3 separate regions of the Homo sapiens genome follow, and all the other regions are linked to region 1. The links are contacts of gene promoters, found by promoter capture Hi-C in human tissues and cell types (Jung and others, 2019). All regions are on one chromosome and are shown on one strand. The core of a region is centred on a gene start or on the middle of the fragment in contact, and the rest is flanking DNA. Distances in the headings are between cores, read along the strand shown.

Evidence for each region. Contacts are between HindIII fragments. The study calls those that stand out against the background at their distance.
Region 2: a fragment that was not itself captured here is called in contact with the fragment with the promoter of TEAD3 in region 1 in 1 of the 25 tissues and cell types used here (liver).
Region 3: a fragment that was not itself captured here is called in contact with the fragment with the promoter of TEAD3 in region 1 in 2 of the 25 tissues and cell types used here (adrenal gland and dorsolateral prefrontal cortex).

What each region holds. Positions count from the first base shown.
Region 1 is chr6:35,494,884-35,498,328 of GRCh38, reverse strand. It overlaps TEAD3 (TEA domain transcription factor 3), which reads left to right and starts at 1,250. Exons shown (of 13, transcript NM_003214.4): 1 at 1,250-1,431. It overlaps TULP1 (TUB like protein 1), which reads left to right. Exons shown (of 15, transcript NM_003322.6): 15 at 1-455. The coding sequence ends at 2. LOC124901309 (a long non-coding RNA gene) reads right to left here and starts at 196. Exons shown (of 2, transcript XR_007059561.1): 1 at 122-196. RefSeq lists enhancers at 1-343, 344-1,274, 2,221-3,006 and silencers at 743-1,072, 1,083-1,212, 1,393-1,442. The HindIII fragment of the contact is 31,199 bases long and covers 1-3,445 here.
Region 2 is chr6:36,053,464-36,056,762 of GRCh38, reverse strand. The region is part of intron 2 of MAPK14 (mitogen-activated protein kinase 14); the gene reads right to left. Among named protein-coding and RNA genes, the nearest start is that of MAPK14, 27 kb to the right of the region's middle. The HindIII fragment of the contact is 5,870 bases long and covers 1-3,299 here.
Region 3 is chr6:36,081,958-36,085,392 of GRCh38, reverse strand. All of the region lies in intron 8 of MAPK14 (mitogen-activated protein kinase 14), which reads right to left. Among named protein-coding and RNA genes, the nearest start is that of MAPK13, 47 kb to the left of the region's middle. The HindIII fragment of the contact is 4,015 bases long and covers 1-3,405 here.

The DNA of each region.
Region 1 (3,445 bases), core at 1-2,500:
GACCCCAGCAGCCCCTCAGCGCCCCCAGAGCCCGTCAGCGTGGGGGAAAGGATTCAGTGGAGGCTGGCAGGGTCCCTCCAGCAAAGCTCCCGCGGAAAACTGCTCCTGTGTCGGGGCTGACCTCTCACTGCCTCTCGGTGACCTCCGTCCTCTCCCCAGCCTGGCACAGGCCGAGGCAGGAGGAGCCCGGACGGCGGGTAGGACGGAGATGAAGAACATCTGGAGTTGGAGCCGCACATCTGGTCTCGGAGCTCGCCTGCGCCGCTGTGCCCCCCTCCTCCCCGCGCCCCAGTCACTTCCTGTCCGGGAGCAGTAGTCATTGTTGTTTTAACCTCCCCTCTCCCCGGGACCGCGCTAGGGCTCCGAGGAGCTGGGGCGGGCTAGGAGGAGGGGGTAGGTGATGGGGGACGAGGGCCAGGCACCCACATCCCCAATAAAGCCGCGTCCTTGGCCAAGCGGAGCGGTGGTTCCTCAGCGCGTGCGGAGAACGAGGCGGCAGGAGGCGTCCGAGGCGCGAGCTGGAAGTCTCAACCCCCGTCCCACTCCTGCCCAGGCCCCGGGCGCTCCCGCGTCCCCTCCCCGCGCCCGTCGCGGGTCCTACCGAAACTCGGCGGCCGCACAGCGTCGAGACGCCCCCCGTGGGGGCCCGGGGAGCCGGGGCGAAAGGGAGGGTCCCGGAGGTCGGGGAAGAGGGAGAAAGGGAGAAGAAATTCGAGAAACTAGCCACGCGGGGAGAACCAGACAAACCGGGTCCCGGCAGGGCGGGCGCAGCCGCCAGGGCGGAGCCGGGTCTGGGGCCCCGGGAGTGGGGGGCAGGCCCGCGAGCTGGAGGGTACGCTCCGCCTTGGCGGCTCGGGACTAGGGTGGAGGGGCCGGGAGCCCCGGGGCCCGTGCGCTCCGGCTCTGCCGGGCTCCTCGTGACGCGGCACCCACGGCCCCCGGCACCGACGGGAGCCCTGCCCGCGAGGCGAGGGCTCCGCCCTCGGCCCCGCCCCAGGCCGGAGCCCCAAATTCCGGCGGGTGCCCGGGAGCGGGGCGAGGCCCGGAGCGCAGGGGGAGGAAGGCAGCTCCGCACGGGCGGGCGAGGAGCGGGGCGCCCAGGCGCGCGCCAGCCGGGGTGGCCGGGTCGCGAGGCCGCGGGGTAGGCGGCCCGAGCGCGGCTGGACGGCCCCGCCCCTCCCGGCCAGCACCGCCCCCTGCGCGCCCCGCCCCCTCCTTCCCGCAGCCCCCACCCCCGCCCCGGCTCCTCAACACAAACTTTCCGTCCCGCTCGCTCCCTCCTCCGCGCTCGGCGCCTCCCGCTCCAGCCCGGCTCATTCCGCACATTCCGGCCAGCCCCCTCCCCACGACCCCCCTTCCCCGGCCCCCCTTGCGGCTCCCTCGGGCCCGGCGGAGCGGCCCGGCCGGAGCGCCCCCGCGAGCTCGGACCAGGTAAGCCGGGCGGACGCCGGGAGGAGGCCCCGCTCGGGAGAGGTGGTTTGGTTGGTCGGCTGGGCTGGCTGGGGGGGCGACACTCGAGGGGGACTGGGTCCCCGAGCTATTGTCCAGCCGGAGCTGGAGCCCCGGATCGGGGTGCCGGGAAGTTTAGAGGGAAGGGGGAAAATCTCTCCGGGAAGCCCCGCCCCCCGCCCTCCCCACCCCCCCGCGACGGGGACGAGTTGGTCCGGGAAGGTGGGGAAGCCGGGGAGACCGTGTCCCCTGTGCCGTCGCCTGTCCCGCCGTCCGTGCTTGGGGGGTCGGGGCGGGGATCCGGGGGCCGCACAGTGTGGAGGGCCTGCCTGCCACCCTGGAGCTCATATCCGGGGCGCCCAGTCCCGGGCCCCGCCGCCCTTTGGACTCCCGGCCCGCGCGCTCCCGGAGCCCGCCCGGCCTCAGCTCCACGCAGGCCTCGGGCCCGGCCTCCCAGCGCCCAGGCCGGTTTCTGCGCGCGGTGCCGCGGCTGCGCTGGGTTGTGGAGGGTGTCTGGGACCAAAGCCGCGCGCCCCGGCCGTGTGTCCCCTGAGAGGCAGGGAGGGGCTCACGTTCCCTTCAGTTCTGCCGCCTGCGTCGGGGTGCTGATTCAGAGTTCCAGCCCTGAGCGCTGTGAGCTTGGCTCGGAGGGGTCTGGATTTGGGGCCTTTTCTTCCCCACACTTGCTCAGGGCCCTTGTTTAGACTTGACAAGGTTTGAGGGTGGCTGGTCTCCCGCTTCCTACCCCGGTCCCCACCATTGTCTGTCATGCCCTTTATTCCTGCTAGGGGAGGGAGGGCTGGGAGCGCTGGTCTGGATCTGTTTTCCAGCCCAGCTGGGCCCTGGGGCAGTGTCATTGAGACCCCGCTCTGTCAACTTTCCTGGTGAGGGGCCCTGATCCAGGGCTGAGAGATTCTTTCAGTGCGAGGGGGAAGGAGGCCTTGGGGCGGACTTCTCAGGGGCTGTCTTCTTCTGTGTCTTCCCTCTTTCCAGGTAGGGGCAGAACCAGGTCAGGCCTGGACTTGTTGTCCGGAAGAACAGGGCATAGGGGTAGGGGCTGGACACAGCTCAGAGGGGCTGGTGCCCATAGCGGCTCTGCGTATCCAGTCTCTTGTGGCCTGGTTCTCTGTACACATGTTCCACCCCAGTGCTGGGGCCACCTGGGGCAAGGAGGGGAGGCTTTCCTCAAAAGTTGGAGATTTGGGGGAATTATGTCCTCTCCCTTCTAGACTCCTGTAGCCCCCCTCCCACCAAGACCCCTCTCGTAGGGGCACTCCCTAAAGGATGTGGTTCTGTGGTCTTCTGGGTCCCTGCTCACCCAGTGGGCAGAGTGCACAGATCTTCCAGGACAAGGCTGTCCAGTAAGGGTAACTTCAGGGGCCCTGGATGCCCCCTCCTCAGGGAGAGGGTAGGAGCCAGTATGAGTCCCAAGCTCTTGGGCCTTCCCCTACCCCCCCAGGGAGGGAACGTCATTAATGCTAATGAGCGCATCTGGGCTGGGGAATGGCTTGTTAGAGTGGTCAGTGGTTGCCAGGACAGAGCAGCACATTAAGTGTACAGAAGCATCACATGGGTCCTGAGCCCTGCTCCCATCCTCACCCAAAGGTTTGTAGACCCTGGCACTTTCTGCCAACTGAAGGAATGTTAAAACCGGGAGGATTTGATATTCTCAACAATATCAAAGGAGAAGATATCTCAACAGAGGTGGTCAAGAAATAGGGATCTGGTCCCCTCCGGACCTTTAACCAGTTGCGCCATCTTGGCAGGCCCCTTTGGGCCTCAGTTTCCCTGCTTGGAATGAATGACTTCTCAAGTCCCTTTTCTCTGAGCTCCTCCCAGAGTCTGTCTCCCAGTTTGCCTTCCTTCTCCCATGATGGAACCTGAACTTGGTGGGGTCTGGAGAGGCGGGTGGGTGATCCAGTGGCCCAAAGAAGAAGGCAAGGACAAACCAAGGGGTGACTGAGGAGTAGCTCAGCCAGATGAACAGGGCTGAAAA
Region 2 (3,299 bases), core at 464-2,963, 560 kb before region 1:
ATAGAAAAGTTTAAAACTATTTACATTGTTTTACAGTGTTTCCATTGTGATTGTGAAAATCCTCCTATGGAAATAAAACTAAATCATTAGAGATCTGATTTACACATGCAAGAGTTACCTCAAAAGACAAAAGTCAAAACTATTTTCAAATAAAAACTCCAATTTCAAACTGAAAACACAACAGACATTTTGGAACCAAGCAGCTGTAAGTTTGAACCCCAGTATCAGTTTGTGATTTCTTGGGTCCAAGAGCTTATAATTTCTTCATTCCAATAACGCTGGCACTTGGAATGGAGCCTGGCATTCAGCAGGAGTTCAATGAATGGCTGTTATGTAAATAATAATTGGCAAATACATTTGGTATCTTCTCTGAGTCCCATTTTCCTCATATGAAAAACATGAGGACATCATTGCTTATTTTCACAGTACTGACAGCAAGACTGAGCAGACAATGTATCTGAAGGTGCCTAGTACAAAAGGCTGACCCACTGTGGATCATCAAAATAAGTGGTGACCACAGCCCACACAGTTGAATAGACAATTACAAAATACAATATACCTAAGCAAACTATCTGAAGCAGCTACTTCCATTAACAGAATATGAGACATAAAGCTCAACTATTCAAATGATTAAAAACCATGACTGCAAGAAGAAAAATAAAGTAACCTGAAAAAAAATAGAGAAAAGCCAACTAGTAAATACCCTACCAAATTTTAATTTCCTAAAAAGGGCAATATTTACAATATTTAATGTGTTTAACATAAGCACACCGAAAATAACAATTTTGAGATTAAAACTACCCATGCTAAATCAAAGTACTTAAATTTTTGATGGGTTTTTACAAAATATCCCTCACTCCATTAATCATACTTATGAATATTAATCATAAGGAAAATACTGTAAAACAAAAGCTTATCAGCATTAAAATAGATCTGGAAAATATTTTAGGAATCTATTCATTTCTCATTTCTTTTTTTTTTTTTTAATATAATAATAGAGACTGGTTTTTGCCATGTTGCCCAGGCTGGTCTCAAACTTCTGGGTTCAAGCAATCCACCCACCTTGGCCTCCCAAAGTGCTAGGATTACAGGCATGAGCCACTGCGCCCAGCCATTTCTCATTTCTTAAATGGAAATTCCCTTCTAAATCAAGTCATATTTTAGTCTATTTCCTTAACTCCTTCTGCTGTTACATGACTTCAGTCACCTCAAAGTAACCCAGGAATCAAATTTTTAGAAAAGACATTCATAATACAAATAAGCAGCAAATATCTCTAATGATTATCCCATCATGGTCCAAAGCCTGGCAAATATTAAGTCGTATTTTTATTAAATTAGCACACATCCAAAAAAAAATACTTTAACTCAGTATCCAGAGACAATATTTAGCATATTTAACAAAAGCACACCAAAACAATCTCTTGGTCTACAATGGTAAGGTTAAATCTAAGGCTCCCAAATAAAATTTACAAAACAATTTCCTTGATCATTTTTAAATTCTAAAATGTACAGATCTCTAGGCCCATATATGGGCCATCTCTGTAGTGTCTGCCCAGACAGCAAAGGATGCAGCTGGCAGGCTGCCTCCCTTTAATCTTTCCTTAGAGCAGGTGTTAACGAGATCAAGGTCAGAAGTTCAATCAGGAATGGTCCAACTAACTTTGTTCAGAGAGAAACTCTCACAGTCACAGAGGACATCCCCTAGCTTCAGTCACTCACCTAATAAATGTTTATCTATTATTCATGATCACTAACAGAAGAGACAATTCAAGATGAACTACCGATTGTGGGTCAGAGGCATTTTTGTGTAAAAGATCACATGTGCCCTCTGGCACCTGAAAATTGTATTTGTTACCAACACCTAAAATGTTCACAAGTTTTAAGCGCCTGTTGCTGCTGCCTGTGGGAGGTTTGGCCGCTATAAAAATTGGATGGTGACCCAAAACAGTAATTTTTTAAAAAAGAAGAGGAGGGTAAACGAGATGAATTTCTCTGAAAACCCTCAATTAAACTTACCGGAAGTTTTGGTTCTTTATTGGGTAAAACTACTTTGACATTATAAGCACCTAACAAATGTTTTCAAAATAGGCTAAAATGCAGGAATTTTTCTACATTGAGTCAAGTCTTTTGGCTTCAAACATTTGCCAATGGAATAGAGAACTATGAGACATTCAGCCATGTGCCTTATTTTGTTTAAATAACAAATCACTGATATCTAGGTGACCACCAACTGTTAGAACTTAAACATCTTTATATAAAAAAAAGACTGCTAGTAAGCAAGCCACTTATAAAACAATGTATAGAAATTAAAATCCTATTTTTCTAATACCATGATCCCTAAACATTGGCTTAACATATTTATGAAGAAAAGCAAAACAATCAGTGTAGCACTGATAATCTCCTAAACCAGATGTTCTTAAATTAGCATAGCCACATCAATAGGATCCTAGTGGCTCCCAAAGGTGCTCTGGGGTTCCATAAATGTTTGGCTTGCATTTCACTTTCAAAATATCCTTTATACTTGCAAAGCTGTGACACTGTCTCTGTCACATATAATAATGTGTAATGAAAAACAGCATACACACTTAAATGTGTTAAAAATCAAACGCAAACACATCCCTTAAAGCTGCCAGGCCACTTTGATTTTATGCAGACCTAGGAATAAAGTTTCTGCTGCCAGCTTTTTCCGCATATCTCAACTTCTTGTAAACATGTCACTGATTAGGAAGGCTGCAGCTTCACACTGAACATTCTTAAAACTCTGGTTTGCACATAGCTACTTAAGTAAAATTATACTCAGGAATAGAAGTTGTCTGTAGAAATAGGATTTCCTCAATAGCATACAATCAAAATAAAATGTGAAAATAAAAAGCAGCAGCTGTGATTATAATGGCATCCATAATCCAATTACAAATTTAAGTCTTAATGTTCTCAATTTAGAAGAAATTTGCACTAATGAAACAAATGTACGCTAATGAAGAGTCACTTATCTGTGACTTTTTTCTCGCTATGAAGAAGTTAAATTACTAAAACAGTCTAAATAGTCAAATAATAAATTCACAGATTTTGAATTTTCTTCCACAAGGTAACAAGCAGTACAGCCAGAGGACTTTGAAATCTCTATGGCCATTGTTTCCACAATGCTACAAACTTCACAGTACCCTTCATATAGCAGTCACAGAAATTCATAACTTGATTTTGAAATTCAGTAAAATAAGTGTCTTCAGTCAACTGTCTTTTTACTTTCAGTTAGTATTCCAATTATATCCACTTATTTATCGTATTAGAATTTGTAAGCA
Region 3 (3,435 bases), core at 149-2,648, 590 kb before region 1:
GTGATTCTTTATCCAGCTTGCCGTTCTGTGTTTTTTAATTGGGGCATTTAGCCCACTTACATTTAAGGTTAATATTTTTTATGTGTGAATTTGATCCTATCATCATGATGCTAGCTGGTTATTTTGCAGACTTGTTGAGGTAACTGCTTCATAGTGTTACTGGTAAAAGAAAACAGTGTGTTTCTGTAGTGGCCAGTAAGTTTTTCCTTTCCATATTTAGTGCTTCCTTCAGGAGCTCTTGCAAGACAGGCCTGGTGGTGACGAATTCCCTCAGCATTTGCTTGTCTAAAAAGGATTTTATTTCTTCTTTGACTATGAAGCTTAGTTTGGCCAGATATGAAACTTTGGGTTGGAAATTCTTTAAGAATGTTGAATATTGGCCCCGAATCTCTTCTGGCTTGTAGGGTTTTTGCTGAGGTCCACTCTTAGCCTGATGGGCTTCCCTTTGTAGGTGACCTAGCCTTTCTCTCTGGCTGCCCTTAGTATTTTTTCCTTCATTTCAACCTTGGAGAATCTGATGATTATGTATCTTGGGGTTGATCTTCTCATGGGGTAGCTTACTGGGGTTCTCTAGGGATTTCCTGATTTGAATGCTGGCCTGTCTTGCTAGGTTGGGGAAGTTCTCCTGGCTGATATCCTGAAGTGTGTTTTCCAACTTGTTTCCATTCTCCCCAATTCTTTTAGGTACCCCTATCATTCGCAGGTTCAGTCTTTTTAAATAATCCCATAGTTCTCAAAAGTTTTGTTCATTTCCTTTCATTCTTCTCTTATCTTGTCAGCAAGATAGTCTTCAAGCTCTGAAATTCTTTCCTCCACTTGGTCTATTTGGCTATTGATACTTGTGGTTGCATTATGAAGTTCTCATGTTGTGTTTTTCAGCTCCATCATTTATGTTCCTTTCTAAACTGGTTATTCTGGTTAACAGCTCCTGTAATGTTTTATCATGGTTCTTAGATTCTTTGCATTGGGTTAGAACATGCTCCTTTAGCTCAGTGAAATTCATTATTATCCACCTTCGGAAGTCTACTTCTGTCAATTCATCCATCTCAGCCTCAGCCCACATCTATGCCCTTGCCAGAGAGGTGCTGTGATCATTTGGAGGAAAAGAAGCACTCTGGCTTTTTGAGTTTTCAGCGTTTTTTCATTGATTCTTTCTCATCTTCATGACTTTACCTAGCTTTGAACTTTGAGGCTGCTAACCTTTGGAGGGGTTTTGGTGGGGACCTTTTTGTTGATGTTGTTGTTGCTTTCCATTTGTTTTGCTTTTAACAGTCAGGCCCCTCTTCCATAGGGCTGCTGCAGTTTGCTGGGGGTCCACTCCAGACTCTTTGCCTGGGTCCCTCCTGTACCTGGAGGTGTCACCAGTGGAGACTGCAGAACAGCAAAGATGGCTGCCTGTTCCTTCCTCTGGGAGCTCCGTCCCAGAGGGGCACCAACCTGATGCCAGTGGGAATGCTCTTGCATAAGGTGTCTGGCGACCCCTGTTGGAGGGGTCTCATCCAGTCAAGAGGCACAGGCCCACCTAACGAAGCACTCTGGCTGCCCCTTGGTGGAGGGGGTGTGCTGCACTGGGGGAAATCTCACTCATCCAGACTGCCTGGATTCCTCAGAGCCAGCAAGGGGAAAGACTAACTCTGCTGATCTGTGGAGACTGTGGCCACCCCTCCCACCAGGGGCTCCATCCCAGGGAGATTGGAATTCTGTCTGTAAACCCCTGGCTGGAGTTGCTGAAATTCCCGCAGAGAGGCCCTGCCCCGTGTAGGGGGATGAGTCAGAGTTCAGCCTAAAGAGTCAGTCTGGCCATGATGTGCCACCACCACTGTAGGGTCTGCACTGTAGGGAATTCCTTCTGGGTCCCAACCGCCCAGTCTCTCCAGCACCAGCAGGGGAAAACAGCAGACTGGAGCTGCAGTGATGACAGCAACCCCTCCCCCAAGGAACTCAGTAGTCTTATGTAGTCTCCAGCCAAAGGGCTACCAAGAACCTACACAGCTCTGTGCTTGGGACCCAAGGCCCTGGTGGCATGTGCTCATGAGGGGGATCTCCTGAATCACAGGTTGCACAGATCCTTGGAAAAAGCATGATTTCCTGGACAGGGTAGAACAATCACTCACCACCTCCCTTGGCTTGGGGTGGGAGCTCCCCTTGCCCTTTGCAGCTCCCAGGTGGGCTGTCGCTCCACCCTGCTTTTCCTCACTCTCCATGGGTCATGCCAACCACCTAGTCAGTCCCATTGAGAGAAGGTGAATACCTCAGTTGCCGGTGCAGGATTCACTCACCGTTTTCGTTCTTCTTGTTGGAAGCCTCTGATTGCAGCTATTTCTAGTTGTCCATCTTGTCCCCTCCCCAGTATTTCTTATATCTTTAAAGGAAATCCAGGAATTACTAACAACCAGTACCAAAATAATCTTTCAAGAAGGAGACTAATTACAAAACCCAAGAAAAAGGTAGAACAGGAAGATAACTTGAAGGGATCTAAAAATGCATAAACCAATACCACTAGCCATGTGTAATTAAGTTTCAATGTAATCTAAATAAAATTTTAATGGCATTTAAAATTCAGATTAAAATACTCAGAAAACTGTGAACAGAAGGTGATAGGGTTTGGATGTTTTGTCCCCTCCAAGTATGTTGAAATGTGATCCCCAATGTTGGAGGTGGGGCCTGATTGAAGGTGTTAGGGTCTTGGATCCCTCATGAATGGCTTGGTTCCCTCCCCACATTAATGAGTGAGTTCTCGCTCTATCAGTTCATGCAAATGCTGGTTGTTTAAAAGAGTCTGGCATCTCTCTTGCTCCCTCCTTTGACATGTGACATGCCTGTTCCCCCTACCACCATAAGTGAAAGCTTCCTGAGGTCCTGACCAGAAACAGATGCTGGCACAATGCTTCTTTTACAGCTATGCAACTGTGAGCCAAATAAACCTCTTTTCTTGATAAATTACCTAGTTTCAGGTATTCCTTCATAGCAATGTGAAATGGACTACCAAAGAAGAGAACTTCCCCAACATGATAAAGGGCATTTATGAAAAACCAACAGCTAACATCATACTCAATGGGAAGAGACTGAAAGCTTTCCCCCTAAGACAGGAACAAGACAAGGATGCCTACTTTCACTGTTGCTATTCAGCATTGTAGCAGAAGTTCTAGACAGAGCCATTACATTAGACAAGAGAAAGAATTAAAAGCATCTAAATTGGAAAGGAAGAAATAAAACTATCTCTGTTTGCAGATGACATAACCCTATACATAGAAAATCACAAAGAATCTAGAAGAAAGCTGCTAGAGCTAATAAATAAATTGAGCAAATTTGCAGGGTGTAAGATCAACAATCAAAAATTAATTTGGTTTCTATATATCAACAATGAACACACCAAAGAATTTCCATCTATAATCGCAGCAAAAATAATAAAATACATAGGAAAAAATTTAACCA